Regions from separate parts of the Homo sapiens genome. Here all the other regions are linked to region 2. Evidence: promoter capture Hi-C in 16 types of primary human blood cells and fetal thymus (Javierre and others, 2016). All regions are on one chromosome and are shown on one strand. Each heading gives the region's core, a stretch centred on a gene start or on the middle of the fragment in contact. The rest is flanking DNA. Distances are from core to core; before and after follow the strand shown.

Region 1 (4,232 bases), core at 1,254-3,753, 1.4 Mb after region 2:
AAAAAAATAAAAAAGTTAATCTGTCCTAAAGATTTAAATATGACTTTGGGCAAGTATAGATGTGTTTGAAATTTTAAAATAAAAGATAAACGTTTTTAGAACCAGAATCACAAAGTAGCCATTTCAGAAAATTGTTTTGCTTTTGAAAAAGATCTGAAATGGAATTACAATGTGTAAGAGCACATGTTCAGTGTCAGCCAGTTCTTCCACTTTCTTACGTGTGATGCCTGGACTTTAATCTTCAATTTCCTTTCTGTAAAACAGAGAAAACATCACAGGGCAACTGAAAGTTTTAAATGTATGTCTGGAACGTAGCAAATGGTCAGCAGAAGGTGGCTAGTATTGTATCCGTTAGTGAGATAACAACATACTGAAACTTGGGTAGTTAACACTTTCAAATACAGTGAGGCTATTGAGCAAAGGAAAATGAAATAAAATTGTATAATCTACCAGAAGCCAACCAACCCTCCTTTCCTCCCTCATTTCTTTCCTTCCTTCCTTCCTTCCTCTTACCTCCCTTCCTTCCTGTTTTTTTTAAAGCTTTTGATTGAGTTTGATGGCACCATAAAGAAAACAACTGTCAAAAGTATTCTAATATTTGAAATGAATTATCGATGGACTTTTATTACTGATATGGTTACTTAAACCATTGAAGAAGTATTATGTGTACAGACATGTAGTTTGATGAAATACTTAAAATTTAAAGTTAATTTTCTTAAGTAATTTGACCAAAACAAGTATCTTAAGTAATTTTGCTTCTTTGCCTATTCATTGAGTTACTGAGAAAATATTGCAGAACTTTCCATCGAACCATTTAGAATAATTTTTTTAAATAAAGTGTGTGGGTCTGCAAGGAATCACTTGGACAAGAATAAAGGCAGGAAATTTCCTGTAATTTTTAGTAGAATCATTGGGAATAATACATATTAATGTGTCTGATTCTAGCTTTACAACCATTGTGGTTTATGTCTGCCCCTGAAAATACACAGCATATGTTTGTTATATGGAAACAGAAAATTATTATTTTTAATTGATAGCCTCTGAACTAGCAGATTTTTAAGCTTGAGGTCATGGTGATGTGTTTACGCTTGGCTCTAATCTTCATTTACTGCAGGCCCCCTTTGTGGGACTTGGCATGTTCAATGAGAGCAAGTATTGCACCTTTATAAAAGAATAATGTGTCTAAACTAGCCACCTGCTACTGACATGTACATATTATGAAAACCAACACTGGCCCACATGTCCAGGGCCTAATAGTAATCAGCATGCAGATGCCAAAGATATTTAATACCCTCCTTATTGTAATTGTAATGTCTAACTACACACATTGAAGAGATCATTGTGGGGCTGAATCAAGGCAGACATAATGGAAGTATAAAAGTATGTAGTAATTTCTAGGGAAGATAAAATAATGGATACATTATGATAATAACGGATAAATTCACCCCACATACAAGGAAAGATTTTTTATATATGGAATGTAAGTTTCCAATGAAGATGTGTTTCTTAATGTAATATCTCTCAGAACAGTAAGAATATGTAATTTTTGCACAAAGATTGGGGAGGAATCTCATAAATATGTGTGAGATCAAATTGAAATTTGTGAACAGAATTTCTTGTATAAAAACAGATTAATATATGTACATCTTGATAATACTGGATATTTTCAAAGTAAAAGTCATATTGGAACAGAGTTTTGAAAACATATTGATTTTTCAAAACAACTATGAAGGTGATAAAGGACATGAAAAAAAGATACACAAATCTATTTCTGGCCTCAAGTCTGGTCACCATTTTTCAAATAAAATGTCATTTCCTCTAATTACATAGCCTATGGGCCATTTTAAGTTTCAATGTGCTGACAAGGGAAATTTTTCCATTTGTTTTGGAAAAAAATTGTTTTGTGGGAAGTTCTGATGGCCAAATATATTTTATATATTTTTTATATTTTTGTTTGTGTAGAGTACCACAATTAAAAATGATAGTAGCAAGCTACACACACACACACACACACACACACACACACACACATATTTTTTTTTTTCTGAGACTGAGTCTCACTCTGTCACCCAGGCTGAAGGGCAGTGGCACAATCTCGACTCACTGCAACCTCCACCTCCTGGGTTCAAACGATTCTCCCCGCTCAGCCTCCTGAGTAGAGGGATTACAGACATGCACCACCACACCAGTCTACTTTTTGTATTTTTAGTAGAGATGAGTTCTCACCATGTTGACCGAGCTGGTCTTGAACTCCTGACCTCAAATGACCCACCCACCTCGGCCTCCCGAAGTGCTGATATTACAGATGTTAGCCACTGTGCCCAGCCAAGCTATGTATTTTTAATGACATTTTTGAAGTTTTTAAAAATTTGCATCTTCAGTTGATTACTCATAATTGATATCTCTAATGTTTTATTTTCTTTCAAGTTTATTTTTTAAAGTTTTGCTGTTATTTAAAAATTTAAGATCATTGTCAGACATTAATGAGAAGATGGCATTTAATATTCATTGTGTTGCTTAAATAATTTTTATTCTGGCCTGGCACTGTGGCTCACGCCTGTAACCTCAGCACTTTGGGAGGCCAAGGTGGGTGGATCATGAGGCCAGAAGTTCAAGACCATCCTGGCCAAGATGATGAAACCCCATCTCTACGGAAAATACAAAAATTAGCCAGGCACAGTGACAGGTGCCTGTAATCCCAGCTACTCGGGAGGCTGAGACACGAGAATTGCTTGAACCTGGGCAGCAGAAGTTGCAGTGAGCTGAGATCATGCCACTTCACTCCAGCCTGGACAACAGAGTGAGACTTCATCTCCAATTAAAAAAAAAAAGAATTTTTATTGTGATATATAGTCTGTCACCAAGTATTTATGAAGCATCTACAAAGTGGTACATCTGGTTGCCAGACTTTTTAAGAGGAAGCAACAAGGCACAGATAAGTTAACTCAAAGGGATCAGCCCAAGCCCTAGTATGTATTGTGGGAAAACCAACATGGGTGATGTGGTGGGAAGGATGAGGGCAGGATGACCTGGTGGTTATGGTGGGTGACATCTGAGGTTAGGAAGAATTCTATAAATGTTTAGGGTGAGCAGAGGCTGTGAGAATATAAATCACTTGCTGTGTACTAAGGGGTACAAGGAGTTTGGAAATTAACCTAACATTATTGGAAAGTGTTTTGGGGTGTCTTCAACAAAGTGAAATGTGGCCTGATTTATACTTTCAGATGGCCAAGGTCCCCATGGTTTCTGTGTCCCTGAACTCCATGTAAGATTGCTGTCAGTGAATGGTGGCCTGGCTCATTCACAGCAGTGGAGACCTCAACAAGAGCTTTGTATTGAGATAGAGCCATGCAAGAGATGGCCACTGGCTCAACGGTATCCGGGGAAGAAAGGACCCAAGGATGGTCTTGAGCCTTTCGCCTGAACACCTGAGGGGATGGTTGTGCCCTTTGTTAATGCCAGGAAGGTGTGGGAGGTGAGAATTAAAAAGGAAAATGTGGATAAGAGGAAGAGGGTGATAATCATTTTGCTTAGGCCCATCAGCCATATTCTGTTTGCGATGGTAATTACAGTTCCAAATGGAGACGTTAAGTAGGAATTTCAATATTCAGGGTAAGTCTGGATCTCACACAGTAGTCAGAGCTGGGGATGTAAGCCCCCTCGTTAGTGGGGGCTCTGTGTCTGATGAAAATTGCCGAGAGAGAGGACAGAGGAAATAAGGGACCTGTGACAGCCTCAGGGGGCTCAGCTACAGGGGTCTGTAAGACACTAGCATAGCGGCCTGAGAAGGCAGGGGGAAAATCACCTTAGTTACCTGAACTGATAAACATTAGTAATAAATAAAAGTAAGTATGCTAGATTTTGCTCTTCAATGTGAATTCATGACCTAACTATAGAATGTTGATATGTGTCATATTTACATATTCATGTAAGTGTTAAGCTTTGCTTCCATCCCTCACCAAACAGAGTAATAGATTCTAGACCATCCCAAGGGTTAGAAGTTTTAATTTAAAAAAGTAAGCTTTAGTAAATATTCAAGGCTGATAAAAGTTGAACCCAAGAAATAAAGCAAGAAGATGTAAATGTACTCTGATATGGTTTGGCTCTGTGTCGCCACCCAAATTTCACCTTGAATTTTAACAATCCCCACGTGTCAAGGGCTGGACCAGGTGGAAATAATTGAATCATAGAGACAGTTTCCTCCCATGCTGTTCTCATGATAGTGAGTTCTC
Region 2 (4,331 bases), core at 970-3,469:
AAAAGACAATTGTACCCTATACCTCCTACCACAATGCTTCATAGGCCTGTTTGAATTCTGGACGCAGCATATTCCATATTTGGGAATGTTGCTCCCATCAATTCACTCAGCCACAAGGACTGTCACGTCTGAATGGGGTGCAGATGAGGGAAGGGGTCCCTAAGCAGGCCTGGTGTGCAGTGCAAGCATGAGCACTGTTGCCTGAGCCAGATGACCTGATGCACATGCTGTTTGCCACTTCTATGCCTTTCACCTCTGCATACAGGTTGTTCCTTCGTGCTGAACTAGTATGAATGAAAAGCTAGGTTTTTGGCATAGTCAGCAGACTCTAAAACAATTGGTATGATCCAATTTTTTGGGTTAAAAATTATTAAAAGGTATGTGTATGAAAGTGCAAAATGTTAAAAATAGTCATCTTCGTGTGGTATAATCATGGCGGTCTAAATTGCTTTGTCTTTTTTTTTCCTACAAATCACATGCGAAATGAAGACATTAAAAAAAAATCTTAAAATATCTGTGAATACATCTCTGACTTTCCCTGACAACTTACATTCCATCCTCCCTATTTTATGTTTTTCTATTACTGCAGGTAACATGTGAAAGTTTTCCCTACCAGTTATGAGTCAATAATCTCTCTCTCTCTCTTTTTATCCTATCCAATTACTCTTTATTATATGTAACAGAGCCAATATAACTTGAGAAAAATTTCCCAAACATAATGAAAAAAAGTTATATCAAATTCAAGATCAACTTTCACATCTGAGTTCCAATCTGTGAAGAAAACTGTAGATCTATATGTTCTAGTTCTAAATTATGTTTAAACGGTTTTTAAAAATTCATGTGAATTGCTTTTTCACCTTTAGCAGTGAACTTGGTATAAAAGGGCATTGGCAGCTCTTGTCATGTCTGTTGAAAGCCCAATCATTAAAGTACTCCTTTTTACCTTTTTGTGATGTTGGGACGGCGGTTCCCCCTCTCTGACTCCTGTGCACAGACACTTGTTTGCTGCCATCCTCCTTTGCTTTTCGGGGGCTCGGTCCCTGCGTCCAGATGGTTTTCTGGGTGACTCCAAGAATACATCTAGGTCGCAGCGTTTTCTTTTGATATTGAAGCCCACATCTCAAACTGGGCTCAGTCTTCAAGCACGCTTTGTTAAGCACGATGTATGGCAAAAGCAATCGCTTTGCCGAGGACCTGTGCAGCTTCTCCGTATACTGTACGGCTCGTAGAAAAGTACAAATCATGTTCACGGAAAATCGTTCCGCTTAGGGACGATGCTAACTACAATTAGGAAAGCTTTAGGGTTCACTACACATGCGGCCGGACACGTACTCAAGCCTATACGTTTACATTACATGGGGTGTTAGGCAAAAACGTCAGTTTCCGCAGCGTAAATGAAAACGAAAAGTCTCCAGGGAGAACCTGATGTCTACCTTCCCTTCTGTCTTCTTTCCATTTTAATTAACAGGCTCTGATCACCTTCTGGGCTGACATTCACAGTGTCCCCGCCATGCCTTCGCAAAGTCACCTGGGAAACCCCCGTCTTCCTGGGAATAGTAGTTTGAAAACCTCGCTCTTAACTGGGATACGGCAAAGAGGCGCGCAAAAGAGACTACATCTCCCACAATTCAAGGCGGCCAGAGCACGGCGCAGGTCCTTCCCGCGCCCCCAGACGCCTCCGCGCCCAGCGTCGGCGCAGACGCTGCGCGTCCCTGGAGCGGCGGAAAGTGGGGTGTTGGTGGGGGAATTGGTACCACCCACCCTACGTGGTTCAGGCGGGACTTGCAAAAGCCAAATTAGCAGTTACAATCTACGTGTTTTCCTGATCCTTATAGAGAGGACTGTGCACAGTGGGAAATACCCCCTTGGACTGTGGTCTTGCCAATTCCGCGTGGGCAAATGATTTAGTTTTTGCGTTTTACTGTGTTTTCAGAAAAACTGGACAATAAAGAGTCAGCAAGTGGGGATGAACGAGGCCGCTGCAAAGCAGGCACCGGTTTCCTAAATGGTTAAGCCGCGAACTTGGCTTGGCGCCCTAGGCGGCAGAATGTTAGGGGTGGGTAAGGAAGCCGAGGCCCGGAAGTTTCTAGAAGCCCGCTCTGTGAGCGGGTGTCTGGCGCGGTGCCGTCTGCGCAAGGGTGGGCATACCGTTACTTTTGCTCACGCGCGCATGCGCATAAGGGGTGTGGCGACGTGCGGGCGTGGGGGCGGTGCGTGCACTCTTCGTTTCAGCCCTGGCGCGGTCCTGTGGTGAACTCCTTGTCTCTATGGCGACTGGACGCGGTCGGATCTTGCAGCAGCACTGGCTCGGCCTCCAGACGCTGCGCGGGCCCAGCAGGGGCGGTGGCGCGGCCCGGGGGCGCGCCAGGGCCTTTGGGTGCAGGTGACTGTAGGGCCTGCGGGTGGGGTCCCCTGGCGGGAAGCCCGTCACTGCGCGGCCCCGCTCTCTTCACCGTGTATTTTATTCGTCCAGCTTGGCGCAAGGCCCGTGGCCGTCTTCAACGTGAGAAGGGTATGGAAGAACGACCGGAGGAAATCCTTTCTACCCTGCAACGTGGGGTACCCTAAGTTATGACACAAATAGAGTAGCCTCTCGGGGAAATATTTTTTCTTGCGGCGCCTGTGGCCGGGGATGCGCGCACCTGCCAGGACAGGTGCAGGTCCAAGAGGTCGTTTCTCCGGGATGCGTGCCCTAAATTCACGTGTGCTCCGCCCCTGCCTTCGTATTTTCGCTCTTCTGTAACCAAGAATCTCCCTTCGTGTTTTTCATGACCTTACAACTTAGGGAAGTAGAGTCTGTTCATCAAAACCTTATCAGTTGACACCCTCATCCCCCAAGCAGATACCTCGGGCAGGCAGGTTGGTCTGGCGGGTGGGGGGCAGCACTTTCTGCACCTCCAACGTCAAGGCTAAGTTGCCATCTACATTGCCAGGTCTTGCTCATCTGCTTTCCAGAAGCATCTTCAGCGTGAAGAAGTAAAATGAGCCAGTGCATCAGAAGTATCAGCATGCATAATGGTACCTTATGAAATCCCTCTCATTATATCGTGAGCTGTTCCCTAGCTGTGTACCCATCACTGCAGTTAGTTTACAGATGGAGGGATAATGCCAAGAATGGTTTACATTCTTGAGGATTATCTTTCTGCTTGTAAGACTCCTTGATTTATAAATAGGGAAAGTCATGCATATTTTGCCTTCTAATAAACCAATGGTCTATGTTTAAGCACACAAAGGGAGTCTATTACATACTAGTTGAACTACTTGTTTTTTCCCCCTGAATCTCCAGAACTATGTCCTGTGTCCTCTCTAGGTCTCCATTACTTCCACTTACCTGTTTTCAGAAGCCCAGCCCTGTTGCTTAGTGCTGTGATAATAGTTCTTAATTGAATACCTATAATGCTAGACATACCACAAGCCTTGTCACAAATAGAATGGTGACAATGCCTGCAAAAATTCTTTTATGTAGGAGAAAAAGCAGGAATTTAAATAGGAAACTTGAACTTTTAATCAATTTGCTGCTATTACTAAAATTAGTCTTTACATAGTGCTCTATTAGGGGGAAGCAGAATGATTTTTATATGATGAATCTTTTATCCTTTGTAAGTTGAGTGAACTTCCTGGATTGATATAATTAGAGGGCCTGTCATTATGCCTGGCATGGGAACCTGCATTTCAAGCTGATTTGGAAATGTATGCATTATTTTTGGTAAAGAAAAGTCCGCTGCTAAAAATAGAATGATTGACTATGGTCAAAGCAGGTGGTTATTTTAATATATCGCTGTGGAAAATTAGATGTTGTTAAGGAATCAGTGTTCCCTTTTAACACAAAATGTGAATATGTATAAATATCACAAACTGTAAGAAGTGTAGCAGAAAGCGTATTAAGTTGGCTTAATTTGTACCTGCTGTAATTTATTTGATTTGCCAGATATTTAAAATGAAGCACAGTCATTAGGTTTTTAAAATATTGGACTTATTGAAAGCTATCAGACAAAAACCTGTCACTTGAAAAAAAGTGTTTTCAAACTAAATTTATCTTGCTAAATGTATCAGTGTATGTCTACACTTAACCTTGTAGACGTATAGATTCGCATAAAAACATAAATAGAACTTGCTGATTTGTTAATTATGTGGACCTTAAAAATGTGCAATTGGGGCCGGGTGCAGTGGCTCACGCCTGTGATCCCAGCACTTTGGGAGGCGGAGGCGGGCAGATCTGGAGGTGAGGAGATCGAGACCATCCTGGCTAACACTGTGAAACCCCGTCTCTACTAAAAATACAAAAAAATTAGCCCGGCATGGTGGCGGGCGCCTGTAGGCTCAGGTACTCA
Region 3 (4,205 bases), core at 1,554-4,053, 1.4 Mb after region 2:
CTGTTATACTTCCCTACTAGGAATACAATGTCATATATGTTAAAAAATAAGCAAATAGAAAATAAATTTTTATAATAGAAAAGTCAAAGAGTTATCATAGCCATTATAAACACTCTATCTTGAAAAAATGTCAAGCTACAGAATCACTTCAATGAATTTGATAAACTAGGGAATCAGAAAAGGTTTTGAACATGACAAAGATTATTTTTCATTGTTATGCTACATAGTTTTATACACATTGCTTATGATAAAATGTACCCTTTTTTATTTGGCTTGACTGGTTTATTTATTACCATGGTTCCTTTTTTGCCCTTTAATTTAAAATTAATACACCAAAGATTTTTTTAAAGGATTAATCATATCTTATATTGCTTTCTCCATTTAGAAATCTTCAGAGGACTCCTTTCCCTTTGAATGATAATCTCAAAAGTATGATATAACTGTCAAGATTTTTTATTTGTAACAGCAATAAAAATAGTGAAATAAGTTAGGTGAACATTTTACTATTAATTTGTTCTATAACTGTCCGGCATGTCCGTCCCCTCCAGTTTCTCCTGAATATACAGAATGCTGATTCCCTGCTTAAAAGGTATTTTCACCAGAAATCTACCAATGGGACTTTAAAAAAAAACACTAAATGAAGTATAATAATAAGAATGAATAGCTCACATATATTTAACACACAGCAGCTTCATGGGAAAACAACTGTATTTTAAATGAAGAACAGGCCTCCTCAGTGATAACTCTAAAATTTCTCAACAATGTACAGACACAGACTAATCATGAAAGAAGATAATGACGATGCTGGGCAGTGTCTGGAGGTAGCCTTTTCTCCTGGCATTCACTCTAGATGCTCAAACTTGGGAGTGCAGCGCTCTGGCAGAGTTGGGAGATGTTCTCTGGAGGGCTCTGGCGGTGCTTATTTATCAGCCAGTATTGAAATTTGTCAATATATCAAAAACGATTTAGTAGCTATATCAGACCTTATCACCTGAATGCAGCCTTTGGCCCACATTCTAAAGGTGGTGACACACATAGATAAGGAATGAGATGTCTCAAGACTTATAAGACATGTTATTTTAATAAATGATTATATTTTTTGATAAAGTGAATTCAAATATTACCAACCCAAGTGCTTTATTGATTTAACAAGATGATTTCAAATAATGCATTAAGTTAGCCTGCTGTGTTAATTTCATAAAGCTATTCTTTTTCATTTTATTTTTTCAAGTTTTCATTCACTTTTCAAAATAATGGTAGCATATAATCACATGCAATGCCAATGAATCCCCATATTAAGCTTCGTACTTCTGTCCAAATGTATTGTAGTTGCCTAATTTCAAGGTTCTAATTTGGAAATCTGATTTATTTTGTATGTTTTTATATACATACCAATTTTAAGCATTATCTTGCAAAGTAGACATAGGTGGTGTTTGATTTGCCATAATTAACTTGAATTTGATTTTGTAACCAAAATGTGGCTGTCCACATAATTGGAGATCAGTGTCTTTGGGCTTTTAATGGAGAACAAATCACATTGTGGTGTTGCTGGTTTTTCTGTTTCACATTTACTTTTGCTCTAGAAGTATTTCCGTGAGTCTGATGACTCCATAAGTTATGATCCTCAGTGTTAAGTAACTTAGACGGTTGGCATTACTTTAATATTCACTTAAGCTTCTGTATCATTTTTTTCTGTATTTTTCCCTTAGGAATTTAATTCGGGTCTTCCTCAAATTTTACAGCTTTAAAAAAATTCCATGAATGGGTTTTCCTCAACCTCAGAATATCATAATAAATTACAAGATATGACCCCCTGGTTCCTATTACCTTGATTAAAGTGGCGGCAATTAATTTACTGATGTTTTGTCAGTGAAATAAATAATAGCATCTTATGAAGTTTGTGTATCTCTGATGAAAATGAGTCATGTCAGATTCCCTCTCTGAAGGGAAGTTAAATAAACAACATTTTTAAAATTCTTTGAATTCTAAATAAATATGCTTTGAAAAGTGAGTTAGGGTTTTGTCTAATTGCACTGAGGCGAGCTAGCTTCGGTGCCATTTTTCTCTGTGCCCTTTTCCCTCCATGGATTCATTTCTATCTATTGCACTCTAGCGTAAAGGACCCAGCCAAGAAATTGTAAAATAGATTCAACAACAAAATAAACAGGTCTTGAGTTAATTATCAATCTCTATGCACTTAATTAATATTTCCCAAGCCCATCTTAAAGGTGTAATAAGGTAGAAAAATAAAAGTACACTGTTAAAATAGCCAGAAATGTTTTTATAAATAATCCTGCTAAATAAATCTGAGGCCCTTTGTTAATTTACAATTATGATTCATTTTATTAATAAACTTGTTTGAATTGTACCACAAATTTAACTGAATTGTATCATCAAAATAAATAAAACAGGGTAATAAAAATAACAATTAGGGTGACTGATGTCAGACACTCATATCAACTCATCATTTTCTTGTAGCCTCTGATTCTGTACTTTCTTGTGTATTATTAAAGAGGTAAATGCTCTCTTAAAATGCCTCTAGTTCCTCAGAGGTAGGAAAAATAAACTCAACCTGCTTTGGACTTGTGTATTTACTTGGGTTGGTTTCCAGAATCTCCTTATTCCTGAAACAGTATGATCATGTAGTTAAACTACTCCTTTATATCTGTAAGTACTGTGCAGCCAACATGTTCTTTTTTGTCCCCAACTTCTGCCATCTTTCCAACCTCTGAGGCATGCTATTTTATAGTGGTTTGCTCTTTGAAAAATTGTTTTTGTGCCCTCTCTTAATAGTCACAGATACTGACACAAAACTTAAAAATGACCAGAAAACAATGTATAAATTATTTAAAATAAAACATTCTTTTTATATCACATTATCAAATTTGTACTCTTTATTCACTTTTCCATTAAGTGTGATATCAATATAGCTAGGCTGTTTTGAGCTTGCACAGTCTGTCTACCAAGCTCCTTCCTAAGTACTTTGAGGGTAAAATGAAGAAGGCAGTCTAGGAAGGAACACAATTACAGAGCCCTGTAGAAGGCAGACTGCTTACAGGAGCTGTATAAGGAAAATTAAGCCCAACATTATGTGCTGTGTTGGCCATCATGCAAAGCTGATTGCAAAGCCCTGGTTACCTCCTTCATCATCTTCCATGGAAGATAAAAATAAATTCAAATGTTAATTCAATAGACATGATGCTTTATAATGAAGAAGTTTGTAGCAGAAACCTGAGAATATAGGTATCTTCTTAAGATCAAGAGAGGCTTTGTGAATAACTGACCTTCTAAGCAGGTCTTGAAGAATGGAGACAATGGTCAAATAGTAGTGCAGGGAGAAATTTCCACCTAGAGTAATTAAAGCAGATGTAGGCTCAGAAGATCATCTAATTGAGCTGGTTGGAACATAGACAGGAGACATACTAAGTATATTTGACAGAGTAGGTTTGAGTTTACATCATGATTTCTGAGTGCATGGAATACTATCCAAAGGAATTTACACTTTATTCAAGGGAGAATATTTTAAGATCTCAGCAGAATGGAACTTAAGATTTCTACTTTCAGTAGAAGCCTCTGACAGGTATGTTTGCTAAATTGAATGGGAGTGAAATACAGTAGAATCAAAACAGTGTAGAAACAAGACATGAGAAAGAGTAACGGGCAGATTGTTAGATGTCCAGGAATATTTGTCTGGCTTTTTTACTTCTACTATACTTTATTGTTTCAAGGTGATGGTTGACTAGCGAACATACTGAGGGTCACATGCCAAACACCATTTTGAGTGTTTTACATGTAATTTTTTTCCTTGGTCATCTTAGCAATTCTATGACTAATTAATAATATTTGTTGTTATTTATTGTACAGATGAGGAAACTGAAGAGTTTTAGTAACTTTTTTAAGATTACACAATAAACAATGATGAATCAAGCTTTGAAGCCAACCTCACCAACCACAAGATCAACCAACACTCTTCACCAATGTGTAATATAACCACGTTAATATTCAACATAGTACGTACTGCTGAAAGAAGTTGATACTTATTCATATTAACCCCGTAGTTTTGTGTTTCCTCATCTGTAAAAGTATGTATTATAACACCTTCTCTCCACCTTACAGCGTGTGAGGTTCAAATGACCATTCATTGGAAGATATTTTTTATATCCTATAATGCATTATAAAAATAAATCATTTTTCCTAAATCATGT

The links. The method cuts DNA at HindIII sites, captures the fragments that hold promoters and counts their contacts. A CHiCAGO score of 5 or more calls a contact.
Region 1: a fragment that was not itself captured here is called in contact with the fragment with the promoter of FBXO15 in region 2 in 1 of 17 cell types (endothelial precursors); the score reaches 10.7 in endothelial precursors.
Region 3: a contact is called between a fragment that was not itself captured here and the fragment with the promoter of FBXO15 in region 2, in 1 of 17 cell types (endothelial precursors). The highest score is 6.2, in endothelial precursors.

What each region holds. Positions count from the first base shown.
Region 1 is chr18:72,764,020-72,768,251 of GRCh38, reverse strand. The region is part of intron 7 of NETO1 (neuropilin and tolloid like 1); the gene reads left to right. Among named protein-coding and RNA genes, the nearest start is that of MIR548AV, 87 kb to the left of the region's middle. The HindIII fragment of the contact is 2,879 bases long and covers 1,064-3,942 here.
Region 2 is chr18:74,145,722-74,150,052 of GRCh38, reverse strand. It overlaps FBXO15 (F-box protein 15), which reads left to right and starts at 2,219. Exons shown (of 10, transcript NM_001142958.2): 1 at 2,219-2,383. The coding sequence starts at 2,268. It overlaps TIMM21 (translocase of inner mitochondrial membrane 21), which reads right to left and starts at 1,530. Exons shown (of 6, transcript NM_014177.3): 1 at 944-1,530. The coding sequence starts at 1,244. RefSeq lists enhancers at 1,280-1,369, 1,450-1,499, 1,530-1,649 and a silencer at 2,340-2,489. The HindIII fragment of the contact is 3,433 bases long and covers 1,299-4,331 here.
Region 3 is chr18:72,742,430-72,746,634 of GRCh38, reverse strand. It overlaps NETO1 (neuropilin and tolloid like 1), which reads left to right. Exons shown (of 11, transcript NM_138966.5): 11 at 1-2,879. Among named protein-coding and RNA genes, the nearest start is that of MIR548AV, 110 kb to the left of the region's middle. The HindIII fragment of the contact is 2,254 bases long and covers 1,677-3,930 here.